2 separate regions of the Homo sapiens genome follow, and region 2 is linked to region 1. The links are contacts of gene promoters, found by promoter capture Hi-C in blood cells and fetal thymus (Javierre and others, 2016). All regions are on one chromosome and are shown on one strand. Each heading gives the region's core, a stretch centred on a gene start or on the middle of the fragment in contact. The rest is flanking DNA. Distances are from core to core; before and after follow the strand shown. Region 1 holds the start of SOCS6 (suppressor of cytokine signaling 6). Region 2 overlaps CCDC102B (coiled-coil domain containing 102B).

Region 1 (7,475 bases), core at 3,118-5,617:
GAGGACATTATGTAACCCAGGACAAGTACCATGCAAGGGAAATTTGTGTGTGTGGAGTATGGCGCCTAAACCATCAAGACAGGAAGGCAGGAACAGCAGAACGGCAATGGGAGGGAGGGAAGGAAGTGGAGGGTGGTAAATTTTGCTTGCTTTGCAGCTTTTCACAGGGCCCCGAGAGTGCTTTTAGCACTAAGGATGTACAGTCACGCACCGAATAATGGTTTGGTCAATGGCATACATGACTGTGATCCCATTGTAAGATTATAATGCTGTATCTTTACTGAACCTTTTCTATGTTTAAATATGTTTAGATACACAAATACCATTGGGTTACCATTTGCTTACATAATTCAGTACAGTAGCATGCAGTACAGGTCTGTAGCCTAGAAGCAACAGGCTATACCCTATTATTCTAGGTGTGTAGTAGGCTACCTCTAGGTTTGTGTAAATACAGTCTATCATGTTAGCACAAGGACGAAATCACCTAGTAATGCTTGTCTCAGAACATAGCACTTTCGTTAAGTGAGGTATGACTGTACTTGAATCACCAGGACTAGGATGGAAGGCTGCACACTGTAACCCACCCAGCTTCCACCCAGTTTTCTCAAGTCTAGACTTCTCTTTTTCCCCTTTTAGATGAAGGGAAGAGGTTTAATATTAGAAATCAAACAAGACTCAAAATTGGGAAATGTCAAAACTTTGTCACTTTGGGCAAATCATTTGATCTCTCAGTCTGTTTCCTCCTCCTTAAAATGAGGATGTTGGACTGTTTTCATGTCTGTAAAAAGAGGATGTTGAGGATGATCATTAAGGGTGCTTCTGGCTCTATAAGCTATTGCTCTAGGAGGAAGCAGTGGAACTGTGCTCCCCTGTCACTGTTAAGAGGATAGATTTTCAATATGACCAGTGGCTATCCCCATTTTTTAACAAGCATATCTATCAGACAGCATTTGTAACGGTAAACAACAGAAATTGGTTATCTTGAGCAAAACAGGGATTTATTAGAAGGCTTTGGGGACTGGCACCAGGATCAATTTGGTGCAGGTACCTTATTACAGTAGATGTGATCCCATCCTCTTCCAGGAGCTTTCCATGATTATATCACTTGCACAACAGTAAGCATCTGGACAAGAGTTTCTTTTCTTTTCTTTTCTTTTCTTTCTTTTCTGGTTTCTTTTCCTTTCTTGCTTGCTTGCTTGCTTGTTTATTGAGATAGAGTTTCGCACTGTTGCTCAGAATGGAGTGCAGTAGCATGATAGTGGCTCACTGCAACCTCTGCCTCCTGGGCTCAAGCAATCCTCCAGCCTCAGCCTCCTGAACAGCTGGAACTATAGGCATGCGCCATCACGCCCAGCTAATTGTTGTATTTTTAGTAGAGACAGGGTTTTGCCACGTTGCCCAGGCTGGTCTCAAATTCCCTGGCTCAAGTAATCCACTGGCTTTGGCCTCCCAAAGTGCTGGGATTACAGGTGTGAGCCACTGCGCCCAGCCTGGTTCTTTTTGTAGACAGAGTCTTGCTCTATTGCCCAGGCTGGAGTGTAGTGGCATGTTCATAGCTCACTGCAACCTGGAACTCTTGGGCTTAAGTGATCCTCCCACCTCCATGCCACTACGCCCTGCTAATATTTTAATTTTTTGTAGAGATGACATCTGGCCATGTTGCCCAGGCTGGTCTCGAATCGCTGGCCTCAAGTGAACCTCCCGCCTTGGCCTCCCAAAGTGCTGGGATTACAGGTGTAAGCCTCCCTGTCTGGCCTAGGCAAGAGTTTAAGTAGGTGAGTCATGGGCACATATCTTAGCTGTGCTGGGTGTTGTTAGGGCAAAGATAAGATTTCCTCCAAACGGAGAGTGAGTGCTGATGGAAAAAAGGGTTCATTGGCAGACAGCCAAGAAGATATCACATGTTTATGGCCAAGAAGTGTTTGGAATTCAGCCATGCATGGAGATTTTAATAGTATATCTAGACACTAATATCTCTACCCTGAAGTTGTTGCTATGTTATTGTTATCACTATGTAGTGGTAAAGGGCTCATATTCTGAAATCACAGAGGCCTAAGCCTGAATTCCAACTCTGCCCCACAGTAGCTGTGACTTTGGGAGAGTAAATTACTACTATCACACTGCAAGTCTCAGTTTCCTCATCAGAAATATGGCGGTGATGTTAATACTGACCTTATAGGATTGATATGAAAATTGAAGGATATGACATATTCAAAAGAGCTGAATGCAAGGCCGGACTCATGAAGTTTTATTACCTAGATTAGGCCCCTAGGGGTTTTTGTGCATTATTTCATGTAATCTTACAACTATTTGACATAATTAATATCGAGCCCCCTCACTCACCCTTTACAAAAGTAGAAACTGAGGTTCCAACTGAGAAACTTGTTTGAGGTCACACAGCTGTATGACCTGTCAAAACTGTGCTTCTGCACCAGCTCTGCCAGACTCAGAACCCCAGGGTCTTAACCATACATTTAAGTGTCTCCTAAAAGAGTCAACACTTCCCCATCCTGCACAGCCCCATTGCTGCGTGAAAGGCTCACTAACCCCCTGCTGCACAGCTCCTACTGGTTGTCATTTTAGAAAATATAGGGAGACACTGGAACTCCGAGGCAGTAGGATTGAAACGTTTGCTTCTTTTCTTTTTTTTTTTTTTGAGACGGCATCTAGCTCTGTCACCCAGGCTGGAGTGCAGTGGTGCGATCTCGGCTTACTGCAACCTCCGCCTCCCGGGTTCAAACGATTCTCCTGCCTCAGCCTCCTGAGTAGCTGGGATTACAGGCAGCTGCCACCACGCCCAGCTACTTTTTGTATTTTTAGTAGAGATGGGGTTTCACTGTGTTGGCCAGGCAGGTCTCGATCTCCTGATCTTGTGATCCGCCCGCCTCGGCCTCCCAAAGTGCTGGGATTACAGGCATGAGCCACCGTTAATTACTGTTTGTTGTGTTTCCCACTAACTTCTCTGACAATTCTATTTCAACCTACATTCTCCAATCACTGTAATTAGATATTTGAGAATTGTGTTGCATTTCAATCACGGTAACAATAATGGTAGTATTTTATTAATAAATTCAAGTAAAAACTGAAGATGACAATGATAGTGTATGATACATGACATCAACTTTGCATCACCTAAAGATCCAACTTTTCTGTTATGAATCTAGATTTCTTGGGGAAATCCAGATTGTATATTGGACATAGGAATTAAGATTACTGGACTTGAACTTTTTTGTAACTAACAACTTTATTGAGATATAATTCGGGTACCAACTCATACCTGAACAGCTTTTTAGACTTTTTTTCTAGCCCTTTTTTCTCTGTCCTTTCGGTTTTCTTTTAAAAAGGTCCATACTATTCAAGAAACACAACTTTTAAAGTCCACAATAATTCTCATTAGATTTTAATATTTATCTCCCCCCAAGCTTTACTGAAATACTAATGATATTCATTTTTTTAACCACTTTTCATCGTAAGAGAAATACAAATTTTCCTATTGATTCTTATGCACAAAAATCAAGTTTTTGTGGTACTGCTATACATTAGTAGTATGTTCAGCCAGTTTCCAAAGAAATTAGTCAAGATCCCAACATGCAACTTGTATACCACACTACCTTGGAATTCGGCGGCACAAACAACTATTCCTTGTACAAAACCTCCCTGAAAACGACTAAATGGAAAAGTGGATGGCTTGAAACAAGGAATGTTTGGTTTTTTAAAAAGCATTTTTCACAATTTAGTCGAGGTGTGGGGAGGGTTTCCCCACTTGTGGCTCTGCACAGCGTGCGCGCGCGTCTGTCCTGGGGTCCCCTCCCTGCGGGGACGAGGCCGGGGTCCCCGCGCGAGCCCAGCGGACCTGGGCAGTGCGGGGGTCCGACCGCCCGCCACAGGGGGACAGGGACCGCAGCCGCCAAATCCGCGGGGCCGGGGAACGAGGAGACTTTCCTTTCCGCGTTAGCCGGGGCCACCCCCGCCAGAGGGAAAGCACCAAAGGAAAAACCAGGACAGGGACTCTGGGGGCCGGAGGAGCGGCCTCCTGCAGGCACCAGCGGAGGGGCGCGGGGGTGGGGGAAGGGATCAGGGCTCCGCGCTCCGTCCGCCCCACGACCCCGGCCCGGCGCCCCTCCCCTCGGAACCCCCACTTAGTGCCCGGCCCCCGCCCCGCCCCGCGCGGCCCCCGGCCTCAGCCCCGCGCGCCCCGACGCCCCGCCTGCGCCGCGGGCCCGAGTAGTGGACGGGGGGCGGCCCGCTCGGCTCCTCCGCACCCGCTCCCCGCTCGGGCCGAGGCGCCGCGGCCGCGCGCCCCTCCTGGAGGAGGAGGAGGAAGGAGGCGGGAGGAGGAGTTGCCGAGAGGAGAAGGCGAGCGCGGCAGTCGCGCCGGCGCTGGGCGAGGAAGCGGAGCCGGGCCGCCTCCGGGTAAGCGTCCGGGGAGCTCGGGCGGGAGGCAGGGGCAGGGCTTCGCCGTCCGCCTCCGGGTCGCCCGCGGTCCGGGACACGGCTGGTTTTCGCCTCGGAGTGCAGGGGGCGGATCCGGCGCGGGCCGGGCCAGGGAGGCCGCCGGGCGCGGGGCTGCAGCGACGGGTCTGGGTCAGCGCGAGGCCCTGCGCCGTCTCGGCGGGTGCGCGGGCGGGGGCCAGGGCCGGGGAACGGGGGCCGGGGCCAGTCCCGGGAGCGGGGACGCGGAAACCGGGAAGCCGGGGCCGGGGCGCGGCGGCCCCTGAAGGGCCGAGGCCTGCGCGGCCGCGGACGGCTCTTCTCGACCCCTCGGCCTCTTCGGCCGCGGCGCGCCGGCCTGGGCCGCCGCCTTTGTTGCCCGCAGCTCGCCGGGGAGAGGCCGGGGCTCCGCGAGGCCTGGGCAGCGGCGCGGGGCCTGCGCGGCTCTGCGCCCCGGCCGGGTCCCTCCTCGGACCTCCGCGGGCTCGGGCTCGGGCTCGGGGTCGGGGCGCGGCGAGGCCGCAGGCGCGAGGGCGGGCCTGGGGCGCGGCGCTGGGACTCGGGGACGCCCCCGCCCCACCGCGAGGTCGCGCCGGCGCTGGTGGAGGTGCAGGCCGGGGCTGCTCTGCGGCTGAAGGTGCCGCCGGCCGGCTGCGCACTCACCCGGGTGTAGGGACCGGACGATTGTGGAATTTAAACCGCTCCTGGGACCGACACGGGCCTGAATTTTCAGTTTGCTTCGGGAGTTGGCAACTTCAGGTACACCCTTGTGGCTCACGGAGCAGAATTATGGACGTTTCTCAGGGGCAGATCCTGGCACAAAACTTGGGATATGTGCAGTAGTGTGTGTGCCAACTTAACGTTCAGTTGGAATGTGAAATTGGGGTTCCCATCCCCACTGTTTGGAATGAAGGGCCAGGTGGGAATATGTGGCGGGACTCAGTCTTCCGGTAGCAAAATAAATAATGTTGAATTCATTTCAACAAATGTTTCTGCAACGTCTGCCCGGATAAGGCAGCATGCACTGTGCATGAGGACAGAGAACACAGTAATGACAGAAATAACGTGAATTACACACTGAACGTCTCCCAGAGACATTTTAAATTTACTGTGTTCCTTGGGATAAAGATACATTTGGAATCAAACAAAAGTAAACGTTCTACTTCAAGATAAAATATCTGACATCTTCTCAACCACTGAAGGTAGCAATTTATCTTGACTTGTTTTTAACCAACTACCACAACATTAAATCCATTTAGCTTACTTGAATGAACGAATCTTAATTGTAATATTTAATGCTGTGGACAGCCTTACTTAAAAACACGAATGGCATTGCTCACCAGGTTTCACAAAAACCGGAAAAAAAGTCTGTAATACTTTTCCGTGGGCTTTCTAATTTCTCCTCCTAGTGGGTTTTGTGCACGCGTGGATATGGTAAGGTCTAGGATCCATTCAGCTCTAAATTAAATATGTGGCCTTAACCCTTTGGTTCAAACACCCTCCCTAAGCCTGCCTTGGTGCCTTGGAGGAACCTGGTTCGTGGACAGTGGATTTGATAAGGATTCCTAGAAGAACTTCTATCTGGAGTTTGGCCAGGGCTTTCCGCTTGTGCCTGGGTAAGGGTCAGCCAGGTATTCACCCGAATCTATACTTTTTTAGAACTCCATTCAGCATCTCTTTTGAAACACTGTTTCTCTCTTACCTTTATCGTTATCTTCTAAATTACCCTCTAAATTGGTAGTCTTGCCCCTTTCTCTTCAGCAGGGCCTCCCACCCAAGCGCACACCCTCGGGTCATCCCATGACCCCCTCTCTTGGTGGGCCCCCCACCCCGCAGGGAGTGGCAGGGAAGGAATTTGAGAGCCATTGACTGGGCGTAGGGTGGAAAATGGTGCTGTACTGACTGGGTTTCTAGTCATTTTGCCTTCCAGTGTTTTTCTTCATTCTTGCATTAGAACTGGAAAAGGTGTTCTTTTAATGGCCCCCCTTTTTTTAGGAAACAGAAAGCAAGTATCTTCTTTTTTGTTTTTCCTCTGTCACCCAGGGTGGAGTGCAGTGGTGCAATCATGGCTCACTGCAGCCTTGAACTCCTGGGCTCAAGTGATCCACCTCCCTCAGCCTCCTGAGTAGCTTGGACCACAGACATGTGCCACCACACCTGGCTGATTGTTTTTTGGAGAGGTGGGGTCTTGCTGTGTTGCCGAGGCTGGTCTCAAACTCTAGGCCTCAAGATCCTCTCACCTCAGCCTCCCAAAGCCCTGGGATTACAGGCACGAACCACCACACCCAGCCTGCAAGTGTCCTCTTAAGCCTTCTTGTGTAACTACACTCCTTAGAGAAAAATCTTGCTAGTTTTCTCCATTATGGCCAGTTTTCAGGAAACTTTTGGGTTATTGATCATATCTTTTATTTTGCTCATAGAGGTGTGATCTTATTTAAAAGTCCAAACATATAGATGGTCCCCAATTTTGGACTTTTTGACTTTTTGATGGAGCAAAAACGATACACATTTAGTATGCACTTCGACTTACATCCAGATAAACCCACTGTGAGTTTTGACTTTAAGATATTTTCAATTTATCATGGGCTTATTGGGACTCAATTATTGTTATTCTCTTAAAAATATGCACTCGTGACCTCTTCCAATTCTGGAAATTATATTTACATCTGTGGTGCCGAAGTACTTTTGTAAAATTATTCATTTTACAAGGGAGAAATTCCAAATACTAGTATATGTCATAAAAAGGAGAAACTTTCTTATATGGCTAGATTGATAGAAATAATTGTTCAGCTGTTAAAAGAGGAACAACGTAAGATGTGTTTGATATTGTTTTGAAGTGAAATTGTCATTAATGTTTTTATGGGTAATTTATTATGCTGTTTGGCGTGTTGGTTTAGCTAATAAGTCGTGATGGCTTTAGGGCTGAGGACACAGTTTACTTAAACTGATTTCAGGTCTTTACCCACCCATACAAACCTTACATTTTACTTCGTTGGGGCAGTTGTTTTTAGGTGGCCGTTGGTCTTGATGTTTCGAGAACAGAC
Region 2 (7,475 bases), core at 3,335-5,834, 1.5 Mb before region 1:
AATTTCCTCAGTTTCCAAACTGGGTTGACCCCTTCTAACTGTATGACTTGTCTGGATACATCAGAGCCTAAGCCCTAGTTTCTTTATCATTAAGACGGGGATAATAATAGTACTGACTATTCCACTGATTGATATCAACATTATATAGAAATTGGAACTGCAACTTTATTACATACAGAACATTTTTGTAAATTTCATTTTTCCTATGCTTTTCCTGTTTTTTTTTTTTTTTTTAAGTACACCATTTCTCTTTCAAGAGACAGAGGGAAAAACACACAAAAAAGTAAATGGTACAATTAGTATGTCAAGGTGACTTACTAATGACTTGTATAACAGAGAAAAATGTATGCTTTGCCTGCAAGGTAGCTAGGGCTAACCAATCTGCAGGCCTTTTCCCTTTTAATAGAAGAATTCAATGAGGCCCATGCTATTCTTGTCTCCTTTTATACTAAGGATATTTAATGAAAGGCAGTTTTATGTAATTGGTCCAAGATCATCGTCTAAAAAGTGGCAGAGTAAGACTCTACCTGATAGAGGCTGGTGTCCACTGACACATTAAGTTCTTCTTTGGCAACAAATAATATTTTTTAGTGATATTATATATACTTTGTAGACCCTTAACATTTTATTTATTTGGTTATGTACTACATTCAAAAATATTTGCAGGAATCATGGTGGCCTGATTGTATGAGCATTTTTACAATGCAAAAATCGGTACAAGAAACCAGAGTCAACATCGTTAAAATATTTTCCCACGTATCAGCGGCCCTGTCCTACAACCACTGGCAAATACTTTCATAGTTGTCTGAGCTAAAATACGAAGAGTGCACACATTTGTATAGGGAAATGAAGACTTTAGTGCATATGCATATGTGTGTTAACCAGTCTCATCTCAAGCAAGTTTTCCTTGCCTGAGAAAACTTTTTAAAACAGGAAATACTCTCCAAGTTCAAGGACTGACTGATTAAGCCCAACTCATTTTTATTTAGTCAGATGTGAAAAAATACACAGTTAATTGGTAGGCAAGATCTCAATGTACCAGAATCCAATTATGGCATCTTCAAAACACTAGTGAAATAAAAGTTAATGAGACATTTAAAGACATTACAATTTTATGATACTGATTTATTTTGAAAACTAGCAAGGATAAATTTAAGTTTAATATGCTGAATTAAATTCTCTGTCTTCACTTTGGAATTTCAACCAAAAGAAATATCATTAAATAGTGAATAGTAAATATATATATGTAGTTGTATATGTAAATACATATATATATATATATATATATTTGCTGTGTTTCTAATTAAGAGTTCCTTTTGTTCTTTTCTTTTTTATATTGGTGTTGGAATTTGGTCAGTTGTATTCTTATTGCCCTCTGAATTATAGTAAATGAAGGGAACAAAACACTCCAAATCAGCAATAATTGAAACATGACTGGACATATACCAATGCTAACAAAACTAATTACAACCATGAGTCTATATTATTACAAGTGTTACAATGAAGAGTGAAGTGGTTTGACATCTCTATATAACACTTGTTAAAATGTTTTTTCTCTACAATTAAAAGTTAATATTAAGTTTAAAATTATAAGGTCTATTAATAAGATAGCCTTAATATTCATCTTTTAAAATATTATATAGTCTTTTTTTCCCAATGATTAAAGGCTTATTTTGTAAGTTAGTTAAAGTAATGAAACCCATTCAGTTGATTAAATAGATGGGTCATAAGGAGGTGATTTATGATCTGTAACTATATAAAAGCAGATGAAAAAAAGTGAGAGGATTTAATGTCATGCACATAAAATATTATATAAGATTATTTACACCAGAAAAGCGTATCTGAGAATAAAAATGGGTAATTATATACAGCCATGGAACTTTATTAATTTACAAATTAAGCTGCATATTTTCAGCACTTTTTAAAGCAAAAATTCTACTTACTATATTCTCAATATACCTAAATTAAACTGTTGAATAAAGAATTGGGTATATGTATTGTTACATATGGTATACCTTTACAAATTAATTTGTGTGTTGGTATTTGTATGGAAAGTTGATTTTAATTCCTTTACAAAGCTTTGCATTGGGCTAAGACTCTGTGTAGTGTTATCTATGCTGTAAAGTTTCCTCATTTCTAAGCGATAGTCATAACTTCTTCAGTACCCCTTAGATTACCTTGACCATACCTAAGAATCTAACACTGACTTGACACATATTACATAATAAATAAAGTTATTGAACAAATGCACATATTTGTTATAATGTGAATTATGTATCTTTAAAACTTAACTCTGCTTCTCTCACCCACCAGACTGTAAAATCTTTGACACACAAGAACCATGTCTTTTTCATAATATTTTATTTTTGACCTTATCACAATATTAACCACAGTAAGAAATTAATTCATGTAGAAGTTAGATGTGCTTTTGCCTGAAAATAACAGAAAACTCAACCATCATAACTTAAATAAATATAGGTTATCCTGCTCACATAGCAAAGGATTCAGAGGTATGCATTCTACGTGTCATGCCATAATTCGCACCTTAAATCAGTCTCTTATCTTCATGATTCACCATTTTGAATGTTATGAGAAGGCTGTTATACTCACCTTCTTCCAGAACTATGTCCTTATTCAAACACACGGAAGGCAGAGGAAAGAGAGTTCCTCATTGTGATGTTCTCATATTTTTCTAGATGGGAAATCTTCTCAGTACCCTTCATCTCACATCCCAGCCGCCAGAGCCAGACCCTATGGCTGCCTTGAGACTAGTCAATAGTCAACAGATGAAGGGCATCATGGAAAATGTAGACTATGATTCAACCTCTGGGACTGGGATAGAGGCTTGTTAACCTATAGATCAATAGGTTGTGCATTCTGCCTGAACAAATTGAGGCTTCGCAGGGATAAAGAAAACCATTATGTAGTTAGTGGACAATAAATATTACAATTTGTATTTCGTAGTGGACAATGTTACAATAGATATGACCTAAGTAGAACTGGAATTGTCAAAATGAATTATTTATGTCATATGCTATCTTCAATTGCATCTTTATATTTTTATTTGTATTTGGCAAAATTGAATACGAGCATTTTCTGTTTCTTAGTGGATAGTTACAAGTGTTTAAATTCCTCTGTATTTTTAGTTACACTGGAAAAATATGCAATATTGAAAAAGCACGGCCAGGCATGGTGGCTCACGCCTGTAATCCCAGCACTTTGGGAGGCTGAGGCGGGTGGATCACGAGGTCAGGAGATCGAGACCATCCTGGCCAACATGGTGAAACCCCATCTCTACTAAAATACAAAAAATTATCTGGGCGTGGTTGCGCATGCCTGTAGTCCGAGCTACTCAGTAGACTGAGGCAAGGGAATCGCTTGAACCCTGGAGGCAGAGGTTGCAGTGAGCCGAGATCATGCTACTGCACTCCAGCCTGGTGACAGAGCAAGACTCTGTCAAAAATAAAAAAAAAGCATTGTTTTCATCAATTTTCAAAAAAAAAAAAAAAAAAAGTGTAGGTCTTGTTCCTGTATTTACAAGGGAAATTTCAGCGTGAAATTATGGTCTCTATCTTTTCTCAGGTCTTAAAAATAAATATGAATTTAGATTCCATACATCGATTAATTGAGGAAACACAGATCTTCCAGATGCAACAATCATCAATTAAGTCACGCGGCGACATGGTGGCACCTGCCTCACCCCCCAGGGATACCTGTAATACCTGCTTCCCACTTCATGGGCTACAATCTCATGCTGCTCACAATTTCTGTGCTCACTCATATAACACCAACAAATGGGATATTTGTGAAGAACTTCGCCTGCGGGAGCTTGAAGAAGTCAAGGCCAGAGCTGCTCAGATGGAAAAGACCATGCGGTGGTGGTCGGACTGCACTGCCAACTGGAGAGAAAAATGGAGTAAAGTTCGAGCTGAAAGGAACAGTGCCAGGGAGGAAGGAAGACAACTCAGAATAAAACTAGAGATGGCGATGAAAGAATTGAGTACACTGAAAAAGAAACAGAGTTTGCCACCTCAGAAGGAGGCATTAGAAGCTAAAGTTACCCAGGATCTGAAGCTTCCTGGCTTCGTAGAAGAATCCTGTGAACATACAGACCAATTTCAATTGAGTTCACAAATGCATGAGTCTATCAGAGAGTATTTGGTAAAAAGACAATTTTCTACAAAGGAGGACACAAATAATAAGGTAAGAAAAAAATCCAGAGATGATGTGAATTTCTGAAGGTCATATATAGTGATGGGGAGGAAGAAGGAAGTGACAAATGCAATGGTGATTATACTAGCCTGCCAGGGCTACCATAACAAAGTACCATAATCACAGTGGTTTAAGCAACAGAAATTCATTTTCTTACAATTGTAGAAGCTAGAAGTACAAGATCAACATGCTAGCAGGGTTGGTTTCTTCTGAGGCCTCTCTCCTTGGCTTATAGAAAGCCGTTTTCTCCCTGTGTCTTCACATGGTCTTTTCTCTGTACACATGTCTGTGTCTTAAGGTCTTCTTGTAAGGGCACCATCATTAGGCCCACCCTAATGACCCTAATTTAACTAAATCACCTCCCTAAAGGCCCTGTCTCCACCAACAGTCACATTCTGAGGTACTGGGGGTTAGGAGACCTAACAAGAAAGATATGTATATGTATCCTTCGTCTGACTTCAATACTTTCCGTGAACAACACATCTTATTTTATTGCTTGTCAAAATATTATAGTACAGATGATTGCAATGCTCATTCTTGAGAGAATTAAGGAATGAATCATCCTAGGTAACCTGGAATCCACATACTACTTAAAAAATAAAATAAAAGTGAAGTATCATCGAGATTTTACTGGAACTTGACTATTCATTGAGATTTTATTTGAAATTGTCTTTCATTTCAAACTTATAAACCAGGGCAAATTTAAATTGTAGGCAAATACCAATAGCATGAGTCCTGTGAAGTTTTTGAGTTACGCTCTAAGAGTGTCGTGCAGTTGTTGCTCTAGTACTGATGTCCATGTTTATTAAAGCGCCCCATTAAATTCTATTTAGATGTGACTCATGAATTAAAGCAATAAGGGGAACTAAAATGAAGCAATAAGCAAGCTTTTTAAAATATTCAACAGCTTCCTGAAAATTCTATCTTGTCTTTCAAAAATGTTAAAAAATGATTGCTTTGAAACTGTAAGTGTCTTATGACAAAAGAAACTTGAAAGAGGAATTCATCAACTCATTAAAAATTATTTACAGCTGTTCAAGTTTGTGCAGAGTTATTTTTAGCTGCGATTAGAAAAAGAGAACAAACAAGAGTTAAAGCAGAACTTTTGAGAAATGTATTTTTTTTATGAGAAAGTAGAACATAGAAAAAAACAAGCTCAAAGAAGAATGCAAGTAAGTGTGGCCACACAACACTTTCAGGGAATGATAATGAAATAAAAATATGAATTGGTTGTGGTATCGTAACATTTATTTCTTTATGAAAATGTTTTGTCATCATGATTTTTCTCCAGGAGGTTTAAATATGTTTTGTTTTGTTTTGTCTTCAGGAACAAGGTGTGGTTATTGATTCTCTAAAATTAAGTGAGGAGATGAAGCCCAATCTAGATGGTGTTGATTTATTCAACAATGGTGGTTCTGGAAACGGTGAAACGAAAACTGGGCTGAGACTGAAAGCAATAAATCTGCCTTTGGAAAATGAAGTAACTGAAATTTCAGCTTTGCAGGTGCATTTGGATGAATTCCAAAAAATCTTATGGAAGGAAAGAGAGTAAGTGCTAATCATTGTCTCCCTTAACCAAGTCTAAGTTTCAAATCACTTAAAATTGTTAATACAGATAGATTGGTCATTTGATAATGTATTTTATCCATGTTTAGTCATTAAGTTTTAGGATTTAAAGAAATTAGTTTGATATATATTCATATGTTGAATTTTAAAATGTAGTTTATAACTTGTTAGTGTTTTCCATTCTTTTAAGTTGACTTTTATCATGACTATGTTTTTATCTTCTCTGGTAGATTCACTTTAATTGTATATGAATTCTTAATGTACAAGGTTAAAATATCCAGTGTATTATTTAAGTTTGACAGCATCTTGGACTTGGTCAGTAAAAATGAATAAATATGTTAATATTAATAGTGGAAAAATCACAATTTTGTGAGATATTTATTACAGAAAAAGTAGTCTTATACATGGACCATTAAGGGCATCAGGCTTTTGCTTAATTGGCCTGGATATTCATCTTTGGTCTGATGTCTTCTAGCTATGTGATGTTGGCTGTTGCCCCTTTGTGAAAATAGCTGTAGTGCTGTTATGTTCCAGTTATCTATTATCTTGAAACAAACTTTTCCAAGTAATTATCATTAAAACATATCAACAGCAACCACCCTGTCTTCTGTTCAAGAATCGCGAGCATGGCTTGGCATGGACATTGTATCTCTCACTTGTGCCTTCAGTTGCAAGGGCTCAAAGGCTGGCAATGCATGGAAGGCTGGGGGCTGCAGCCTCTTTCACTCATATCTGGCAGTCCATCTCGGTTTTCATCTATGCCTCAGTTGGGACACCTGCACTGGGGCTATTTAAGGGGGTGCTTGGCTTCCTCACAACATTGGGGCTAGGTTGCAAGTGAACATCTTAAGAACACAGAGAGAAGAAAACGCCATTTGAATGATTCTGCCTCAAAAGTCAGACCCACTTATCGGTGGTGAGAATCTCAAAGTCTGACTCAGATTAAAGAGAGAGAGGCACTTTCAATGGAAGGAGTGTGAAAACAATTTTATAATAAGGGTGTGTGGGATGCAGTCATTGTGGCAACGATCTTTGCAAAATACAGTCTGTCATAGCCTTTCTCAGTGAATTCTCATAAAGATCAAGAACAAATAACATCTGGGAAAGAGAATAGTAATATGAAATGTTCAATATGGATTTTCGTTTCTATGCAATCAGCTTACAATTTTATTAGCACAATGTGGAATATCTAATATATAAATAAGGTTCCAAAATCTAAAAATAATTATTTTTTATCTCTTAGTTATAAAAATCTTAATAGGCAGAACCAGAAAAGCAAGAAGGATATGTATGCATATATACACACAATGTATTATATAAGTATATATTATATAACAGTTTTAATTTTCCTGGCTTGAATGGACTGAAATAGGGATAAATATGCATGCTAGCCATTCACAAATACAGTAAGTTCTTTACCACTTACTTTCTGCCAGAAGTTTCTCATTAGTCCCTCTGAAATTTACTAGTGCCACCAATTCCCTTTTTCAGATTCTTCATCTGTATTTCACTAGATTAGTAGATTGTGATCATACAAGTATCTATGTACAGAATAAATATTTATTACTCTACCAAGTGTAAATTCCTAATAGAGGCAACCAACATTAGTAGAAAACAGAATAAAAATGAATTTAATTTTTAGGCTCGTACACATAGTGACAATTTTATCTAGCCCTATACATTTCAGTCACATTCTA

Evidence for each region. Contacts are between HindIII fragments. The CHiCAGO score rates a contact against its expected background, and 5 or more counts as called.
Region 2: a contact is called between a fragment that was not itself captured here and the fragment with the promoter of SOCS6 in region 1, in 4 of 17 cell types (M0 macrophages, M1 macrophages, M2 macrophages and 1 more). The highest score is 12.9, in M0 macrophages.

Annotation. Positions count from the first base shown.
Region 1 is chr18:70,284,678-70,292,152 of GRCh38, forward strand. It overlaps SOCS6 (suppressor of cytokine signaling 6), which reads left to right and starts at 4,368. Exons shown (of 2, transcript NM_004232.4): 1 at 4,368-4,413. RefSeq lists a silencer at 4,204-5,103. The HindIII fragment of the contact is 7,416 bases long and covers 3,421-7,475 here.
Region 2 is chr18:68,833,167-68,840,641 of GRCh38, forward strand. CCDC102B (coiled-coil domain containing 102B) reads left to right here. Exons shown (of 8, transcript NM_024781.3): 2 at 3,583-4,203; 3 at 5,540-5,760. The coding sequence starts at 3,598. Among named protein-coding and RNA genes, the nearest start is that of CCDC102B, 39 kb to the left of the region's middle. The HindIII fragment of the contact is 1,025 bases long and covers 4,073-5,097 here.